Linked DNA regions of Homo sapiens: all the other regions are linked to region 1. Evidence: promoter capture Hi-C in 16 types of primary human blood cells and fetal thymus (Javierre and others, 2016). All regions are on one chromosome and are shown on one strand. The core of a region is centred on a gene start or on the middle of the fragment in contact, and the rest is flanking DNA. Distances in the headings are between cores, read along the strand shown.

What was found. The method cuts DNA at HindIII sites, captures the fragments that hold promoters and counts their contacts. A CHiCAGO score of 5 or more calls a contact.
Region 2: a contact is called between the fragment with the promoter of ATP7B here and the fragment with the promoter of SUPT20H in region 1, in 1 of 17 cell types (total CD8 T cells). The highest score is 5.3, in total CD8 T cells.
Region 3: a contact is called between the fragment with the promoter of MTMR6 here and the fragment with the promoter of SUPT20H in region 1, in 1 of 17 cell types (naive CD4 T cells). The highest score is 9.4, in naive CD4 T cells.

Annotation. Positions count from the first base shown.
Region 1 is chr13:37,058,364-37,061,121 of GRCh38, forward strand. It overlaps SUPT20H (SPT20 homolog, SAGA complex component), which reads right to left and starts at 1,325. Exons shown (of 26, transcript NM_001014286.3): 1 at 1,196-1,325. RefSeq lists a silencer at 1,237-1,496. The HindIII fragment of the contact is 8,647 bases long and covers 1-2,758 here.
Region 2 is chr13:52,010,012-52,012,769 of GRCh38, forward strand. It overlaps ATP7B (ATPase copper transporting beta), which reads right to left and starts at 1,439. Exons shown (of 21, transcript NM_000053.4): 1 at 1,276-1,439. The coding sequence starts at 1,326. It overlaps ALG11 (ALG11 alpha-1,2-mannosyltransferase), which reads left to right and starts at 2,387. Exons shown (of 4, transcript NM_001004127.3): 1 at 2,387-2,451. The coding sequence starts at 2,408. RefSeq lists silencers at 1,646-1,985, 2,036-2,145, 2,156-2,255 and enhancers at 2,376-2,505, 2,556-2,645. The HindIII fragment of the contact is 3,430 bases long and covers 1-2,758 here.
Region 3 is chr13:25,286,059-25,288,816 of GRCh38, forward strand. It overlaps MTMR6 (myotubularin related protein 6), which reads right to left and starts at 1,430. Exons shown (of 14, transcript NM_004685.5): 1 at 1,166-1,430. The coding sequence starts at 1,189. RefSeq lists enhancers at 810-1,430, 1,134-1,473, 1,574-1,743. The HindIII fragment of the contact is 4,901 bases long and covers 769-2,758 here.

The sequences.
Region 1 (2,758 bases), core at 75-2,574:
TCCTACCCTTGAAAAGCTCGTAGGAGGTTTAAGTTGAATTTAGGTGAACGTGAAAATTTTCTGACCACTGAATTTGAAGATGAAGATACACTATGTACTTTTCGGACAAAATGTGATGACTTTAAGATTTCTTGTCACTAAATTGGGGATGGGGGCTTACTAACTTTAAATTATTTAAGTACTTCAGACAAAAACTAATAACTTCATATCTCTCACAAAGCAAACATTCTGTCTATACACAGAATTTACTAGAACCTGTGAGGAAACTGTAATCATTATCATTTCCGTTTTACAGAATAAGGCAATCAGAACAACTGACTTTCCTAACATCACAGACCTAGATCAGAATTCAGAACTCTGTGTCCAATCTTAGGTCCCTTCCAATATTACAACCTGCAAACTAATCAAACCGGCATCTGTTTTTACATTTCTTTAAAAAAAGCAAAGCAATTAAAAAAAGGACCCAATTCTGCTCAGAGACGAATATGTATTTCTTAATTTGGATCTAACTTTATAACATGGTGATCAACCCAAGTACACTGTACTCGACTCCGAAAATCCTGCTCGTCACTTTATATTTTGAGTCCTACTAGAGACTTTGATGAATTGCACTCAAGAAGACGCGGCCCCCACTACGCAGTGGCTACGGGAGATGGCTTCCAGGGCAACTGTTCTCCAAGTTCATTTCTGAGCGCCGGGTAACCATGGCCAGTAATTAATCCAATTCTAAGCGTTGCTATCAATTCTACGCGTTGCTATCAATTCTACTGATTTCCCTGATCGACCAGAGTCTTCCCATTGCAGGAGCTTTTGTCACAACTTAGGCTTTACCTGTACAACCGTCATCTCCACAGAGGAGCGACAAGCCTTTATGCAATATGGACACCAAGAAAACCGCCTTCGAAGACACGCAAGGCAAAATTCTTGCCAGTGTCCGGAAATACCCGTCTCTGGAACCCAAAAGTCAAACTAAAATTAAAAGTTCGGCTTAGCAACACCGCGAAAGGCGATGTAGGCGTCCACCTGGAGTTTAGCTGCCTCAACCTCCGCCCCGGCCTGCCGGGTCTCTGGGGACCCCGTCTTCCTCCAGCGGGCTCTGGGATGCGGCCCGCTCACCTCTGACCCTGGCCGGATCTCGCGCGTCTAAGCCACCGCGTTGCCAGTCGCTGGCCACCCACCTACCGCCACCGCCCACCTGTGCGGGTCGCCTCGCCGCTAGGCCCCAAGACGGCGCCGCCTGCTCGGCAGCAAAGCCCACCCGCCCCGTCGGCGGCTCAGTGCTGCACCCCCACCAACAGCCAGTTCCGGCGGCCGCACTTCCGATTGGCAGGCTGGGCCGAGGGGCGGGGAAGGCGGGCGGAAGGGGAGGAGCCGGGAGGGCGGGGCCGCTGCCAGGAGCCTGGAGCGCTGCGTTCCGCGCAGGACGCCGGTGAGGCCCGCAGAGACTTGCGTCCGGGCGGGAGGCGGGGCCCAGGATCTCTGCTCAATCCTGGAGTCCGAGTCCGCAAAGTGGGAGGGAGGGTGTAGATGTGAATTTGGGGAAAAACGACCCTGTTGAATTTCTAGAGTGGAAGAAACATAGAACTAGCTTTTCTCTTTGCTTAGCACATACAAATGGAAAAACAGCGACACCGTTACCTACATTTACTAGTCCAATGCGTACAACCTTCTGTAGTATATCAACTGCCAATGAGTTTATGTTTTTAAAAAAACCACCCCAGAGAAGGGTTCTAAAAATTCAGAAACCGCATTACTAGCACACATTGTAAGGTCTGTTTTGTTTTGTTTGTTCGTTTGTTTTTCAGACAGAGTCTCGCTCTGTCGCCCAGGCTGGAGTGGAGTGGAGAAATCTCAGCTAACTGCAACCTTTGCCTCCTGGGTTCAAGCGATTCTCCCTGCCTCAGTCTCCGGAGTAGCTGGGATTATAGGCGTGCACCACCACACCCGGCTAATTTTTGTATTTTTAGTAGAGACTGTTTCACTATGTTGGGCAGGCTGCTCTTGAACTCCTCATCTCAAGTGATCCACCCGCCTTGGCCTCCCAAAGTGCTGGGATTACAGGCGTGAGCCATCATGCACGGCCTGGGGTGAATCTTTTTAATGAGCATTTATTATTTGCCGTTCACAATGCCAAGGGTCATAATGAATGAAAGTGTCTTGGAATTAGAGTTAGTGGTTGCACACATTATAAGTGTATTAAAGTACACTCCAAAATAAAATCCGAACACATTAAGTGGTTACTCCCATTCCTCCCTCTCTCAGCCCCTGGCAAATGCCAATCAGCTTTCAAACTGTGGTACCTATTACGGATATTTCATATAAATGGAATGTGTGACCTTTTGGTCTGTCTTCGTAGCATAATCTTTTGCAGGTTCACCTTGTACACCTTGTTGCATGTATCGGTACTTCATGTCTCTTTATGGCTACTATTCCACTGTACCTAGATGCCACAGTTTTACCTGTCCATCCACTGATGGACATTTGGGTTGTTTCCACTTTCGGGCTATTGTGAATAGCAATGATATGAACATTTGTATACAAGTATTTGTTCGAGTCCCTGTTTTCAATTCTTTTGGGTATAAACATAGTGGAACTTCTGGGTCTTATAGTAATTCTACGTGAAAATATTTGAGGAACCCATAAACAAATGTTTCTACAGCAGCTGAACCATTCATTTTACATACCAAGAGCATTGTCGGGGGATTCCAATTTCTCCACATCCTCACTAACACCATAATTTTCTATTCCTTTGATAGTA
Region 2 (2,758 bases), core at 189-2,688, about 15 Mb after region 1:
GTCAACATGGGCAGGAGCAGTTACAGAACGTTTCAAGGAGGTGGCAGGTCTTGAGCTTGATTTGGAAGGATAATGATTTCTTTCTCTAGGTGGGGACACTGTAGGAAGTTGAAATCTCCTCTGTACAAGCCACCCCTCCCAACATTTCTTCATACTCCTATCAAATGCATAGTCATCATACCCTACAAACCACCTACTAACCAGCCTCTCTCTGTCTGTCCACTAATCCGTTAGTTTTCATTTCTGTATCACCGGAGCCTAGATGAATTCACTACTAAAGGGCACCCAGCAACGTCAGTGAATTAGTTTCAGAAATCTGTGGAAAAGAAACAGCCTACTGTTCTGTCCAGCAATCCAGGCCTAAGTATCTATCCTAAAGAAATAGTGTCAGCATTAAAAATCATGTACAAAGATGTTCACTTGCAAGAGAGAGAGAAAAAAAGTAGCAAACAGAACGTCCACCACTAGGAAACCATGAATAAACTATGATGCGTCCAAACTGTGCAGAGGTTGCACTGAATTAGACAGTTAGTGAAACAATCTCTAAGATATATCGTTAAACTGAAAAAAGAGAATGCACATACAGTGATCTCATTTAGGTAAAACAAAAATTTTAACACCTCATACAAATGAAACCTAAAGATTTCTCTGAATGTGTGCATATTACATATAGATACATGTCTTGTTAACCACTGTATCAACTCAACACTGTGTGCCTGAAACATAGAAAGTTCTCAATAAATATTTGCCGAATGAAGACATATGTACGTGAATAGAAAAAGACTGAAAAATAGATCTGCTTTTTGTGCAAAATATTTCTGTGCTGTTTCCATTTTTAAAAGACTGTCTTAATGTATTACTTGTACAATTAAAATGAATTTAAAACAGTTATAAAAGTTCCAGGACCTCGATATACCATATCTGGTCCAAGCACCAGGCTCTGAGTAACTTCTCCAGGTAACTAACTTCATCGTTTTGAGCCATTAGGGCTCTAGCACAGCAACTCGACGCTCACTTTATCTCTCCAGCATCAGACCCCTTAAAAGCATAAAGATGAATTTTGAGGTGCGGGGTTTTCCATTGCTCCCAAACATCAGTTGACGGCACACTTTTTCTAAAGGGTCCTTTTCTCCCACGCCAAGACATCCCTGGAGCTGGGGTCTGGCTCGGCCTTCCCTGCGCACCCCCTGGGGGCGAGTAAGCGCCGAACGCGGGGAGGAAAATCCTCCTGGTGGGAGTGAGCACGCTGCGCGGACGCGGGGGAACAAAACTCACTTTCCGACTGGCCCCTTCTCTGGCTGTGATCTGTCTCTCCTGCTCAGGCATCGTCCCGCACGGACACCGAATTCTTCTCTGATCTGGCTCAGAGCAAAAGGTCACCTGGTCGGTGGAGGAGAGCGGGGTGTTAAAGTCCCGGGAGAGGAGGCGCAGAGTGTGAGGGCATCGGCGCGGCTCGGCTCTAAAGCAAACAGGGGTCCGGGAACCGCCCCTTCATTTGGGACCGGGGAAGCCGCAGCCCTCTTCACACGGATGATTCAAAGTTGCGCGCCGCCGTCCTCCCGACCTGGGGGCACGGGGATGAGAGCGTGAGGGGAGAGTGGGCCTCGGACCCTCGCCCACTCCCCAGGTGGCTGGGAGTGCCCACCCTGGAACTGCCGGCCCCGCCGGTGCCACAGTGTTCTCTGCCGTGCCAGTGCCACAATGTCCTCTGCCGTGCCGGCGCCGCAGGGCGGAGGCCTGTCCTCCTCCGCGGTCTCGGCCACCTCGCGCTGGTGCGCTCCGACACTGTACTGGGATCTCACGCGTGTGCGGGAGCGGGAGGGCAGGTGAGCTGCGCAGAGCCGGGCCGCAGACTCAGCTCCCAGGGCTCACCCACCGCCTGCGGGGAAGGTGCCCGGCGGCGCCGCGTCGGGTCCGCTCTGCGCTGCCCCCTCCTCGGACTCTGCGCCTGGCTGCCGGACGCCGTGGGTCCCAAAGGAAGCAACCGCGGCAAGAGTGAACTCCGCACCTGGAAAATCGATCCGCTGTGCGCAAAGGCCAGCCAATGGCCTCCAACGGGCGGCGGGCTTTGGGCCGGGAACGGGGGCGCAGGCGCCCAGGCGGGGGCTTCTAGTGGGGGAGGTGGCCGAGGGAGGGAGCGACGGCTGTCAATCACAGGCCACGCCCTCCTCAGCCCAACCCCCCACTGCTGTCCCGCCCACGGGGGCGGGAGCCGTGTGCGCCACGCCGAACACTAGTCTACGCCTCGGCATATTCTATTGGCTGGAAGGCCGTGGGAAGCGGCTACCAGTAACCAATAGTAACGCACAATTGGCCCGTGGGGGCGGGGCGAGCACGGCTTGCTTTCTCAGGAGCCAATAGGGAAAAGGAAAGTGAAGCGTTTCCTGAGTTCGGGGGTCGGCGGAAGATGGCGGCCGGCGAAAGGAGCTGGTGCCTGTGCAAGTTGTTGAGGTGAGCAGCCGGTCGTGTGGGCTCACAGACGTTTTCTCTTCTGTAGGGGTACTTGCCCGTCCAGTGTAGCTAAATTTTGCGGGCAAATGGCCTTCCTTGTCATGAATCTAAGGTAATTTCTCAGGCCAATGAGCAGTCTTTCTTTTTCTTGGGGGTCTTCTATATAGACTGGAATAGACTAGGTCTTAAAGACTCAATTTACCGCGTTTTCTTCTGCTTCACTGTTGGCCGAGGGGTCGAGTTCCCTTCCCTGCTTCAGCTTTTTTTTTCCCTTTCACACTCCAGTTAGTCTGTCATAAATTATTCA
Region 3 (2,758 bases), core at 180-2,679, about 12 Mb before region 1:
AGTACCCACAACTTGAATTCTCAAGTTATTTTATCTTTCTTCTCTTAAAAAAAAATGTTAAGGGGTTAGTTTTCAGAATCTTCAATTTTACTAGATACGGTATGCACAATGTTAAAGACAAGCTCCAATAAAAATTTATGTATACCTTTAAAAGGTTTGTGAAACATTTAAAAAATTTTTAAAAACACAAATTCTTCTTGGAACAATGAAGATAACGAACATCTGTGGTTCCCTAAATGAGCCGTAATTTTAAGATGGGCAGCAACTAAAGGGCTTCAGCTTTGCCAAAACGTCAAGAGGCTGCCTTGCAGTGGGCTCGCAGTGATTTTAAAATGTTATTCTTCTCGTCTCGATTTATGTTTTTCTCCCTCTCAAAGTTAAACTTAAATGTCGTTGGAAACGTAATTTGGTAACATTCTGATGTCATTTCCTTCCGTTTTTAAATTTGTAACGAAATAAAAATATTTGTTCGTTCTCAAAATGAAGGTCTTCCACACACAAAAATTAAGCATGGAGTGCAATAAGGTCAATCGAATAAAGCTGCATCCGACCTTTTAAAATATGGAATAACATTTTTCCCTTCTCCAGAACTCTTGACTACTGACACAGGACAATGCCTGAAGTATGAAGCACAGACACGGAAACACCGGATGCGAAAGACTGGAGACCGAGACAGCAAAGGGAGGTGGAGCGGAGTGCTGATCTCGGTTCCTCCAAAACTCGTACTGTGAATCTGTGACACGGGACAATGAAATGTGAGCAAGGACAAGCTTACACAGCATCATAATGTTAATTTGAAGACGGTTTTCCGGTTGATGAGGCAACGAAAGGCTGAAAGACTCCAAAGTTAAAGGAGCCCCAATTTTGCCCGAGAAAACGTAGAGCTAGGAGGGCGGTGACCAGTTTTCCCAGACTTATCTCTACGCACTCCAAGATGCTGAAAGTGGGACCCCTGCTCCTGTAGGTACAGGAGGCCTCTGCACCCCGCTTGGCCCAAGCTAACCCTGCCCTCCCAGACCAGGCCTGGCCAGACCCTCCCGCCCCGGGCCGGGTCTCCGCCGGGCCGGCTCCCAGCCCCAGTCAGGCCAGCAGAGCCTTCGTCTCCTCCTGCCTCAGCCGGGTCAGAGCAGGGCCCCTGAAGACTGGCGATCCCGCGCCCGACTACCTTGGTCGTCCGGATATGCTCCATCGCAAGGAGACGTCAGCCGGCAGCCGGTCTCACAGGCGTACCATACGGCTACAGAAACAGGGCGGTGACAGCGACAGAGAGCAAGCGGGAACTCCCTCCACCAGCCAGCGCCGCGGGTCTGTCTGCCGGCCCCGGTGGCGTCAACGGCGCAGGTGCAGCCGGTGAGCGCCGTCTCCTAGAAACACTTCCCCAAACCCCGCGGCCTCCCGGGGGACTCGGGGCAGGCAGACAGAGCGTGTGTGGACCGAGAGCGGCTTGCTGGTTCGTCCCGGACAGCGGCGGATCCCACAGCGCCCCCTGCTGGAGGAGGCCGGTACTGCTCACCACCCCACCCGAGGCGGTCTTTGTCATCCCGCCGAGCGGACGCGCGGGGCGGTCGGGGAGGAAGACTGCGTGAGAATGGATCCCGAGTAAAGGGTTCTTGTGGGGTGAGGGCAAGAGTGGAGGATGTTCTGAAGTCCATCGCCATACCACTGGACAGCACCAAATTTAGTTTGAGCTGCAGTTCTACTCATAAGAATGTATTCTAAGGAAATAATCAGATTTGGAGTTATTATTCTAAGGAAATAACCAAATAAGGAAACCAGCCTTATTTGAAACAATCAACTCTCCAATCCTACGGATTCCTTATGTAAAGTATGATGATTAGCTAGTCCTCAATCTGGTCTGGTGTCAGAGTCCCGCCTCCTACCTCAATTTCATACGATGTTAGCACCAGCATCCATTAAAACTCATCCTGTAGAGGGATATCACATAACGAAAATGTTAATGCTGCATTACTGAGTGAAGAAAAAACTGACTATGGAACAATAAGTTCAATGTAGCCGTGCTCTGTAATTTTTATTTATGTAAACAAAAAGTTTACATTTCTAGGTGAGGGTTACAGGTAATTTTTGTTAGAACACGTCTAATGTGGTACTTCTCAGCCTGGAGTGAGTTTTCTCCCCGGGGGACATTTGGTAACATCTGGAGATATTTTTGGTTGTCTCAAATGGTGGTGGTGGGGGGGTGGCGGCGGGGGGCAACTGGTGGGTGGAGGCCAAGTCACAAGTCGGCTGCTGAACACCCTACTAGGCACCAGACCAACCCCCCAACTACAGGGAATTATCCGGCAGATGACAACAGTGCAGAGGTTGAGAAACCCTGCTCTATGCCAGGCGCGGTGGTTCACGCCTGTAATCCCAGAACTTTGGGAGGCTGAGGCGGGCGGATCACTTGAGGTCAGGAGTTAGAGTCCGAGAAACTCTGCTCTACGTTTTGTAAGTATTCTGTACTAAGCCGGTTAAGGTTTGTAATCTTCATCTTTCATACTGTGATTGGTGTTAGAAAAGCCTAACATCTAAATTTTCTTTTATAATTAAAAATTTTGTTTCACTTATTTGTTTCATTTTGTTCAAGTTGTCTTGGTTTGTTTTGTTTTGAGTGCCTACGATGTTTCAGACAGATTGCCAAAGCAATGGAGATGGTTATTAAACACAACAGCCTTTGCGGTGGAGTTGCTGACTCCTCTAAGCTAAATATGTAATAAGAGTTACATTAAACCACCTAGAAACCAACCTTAGTACAGTA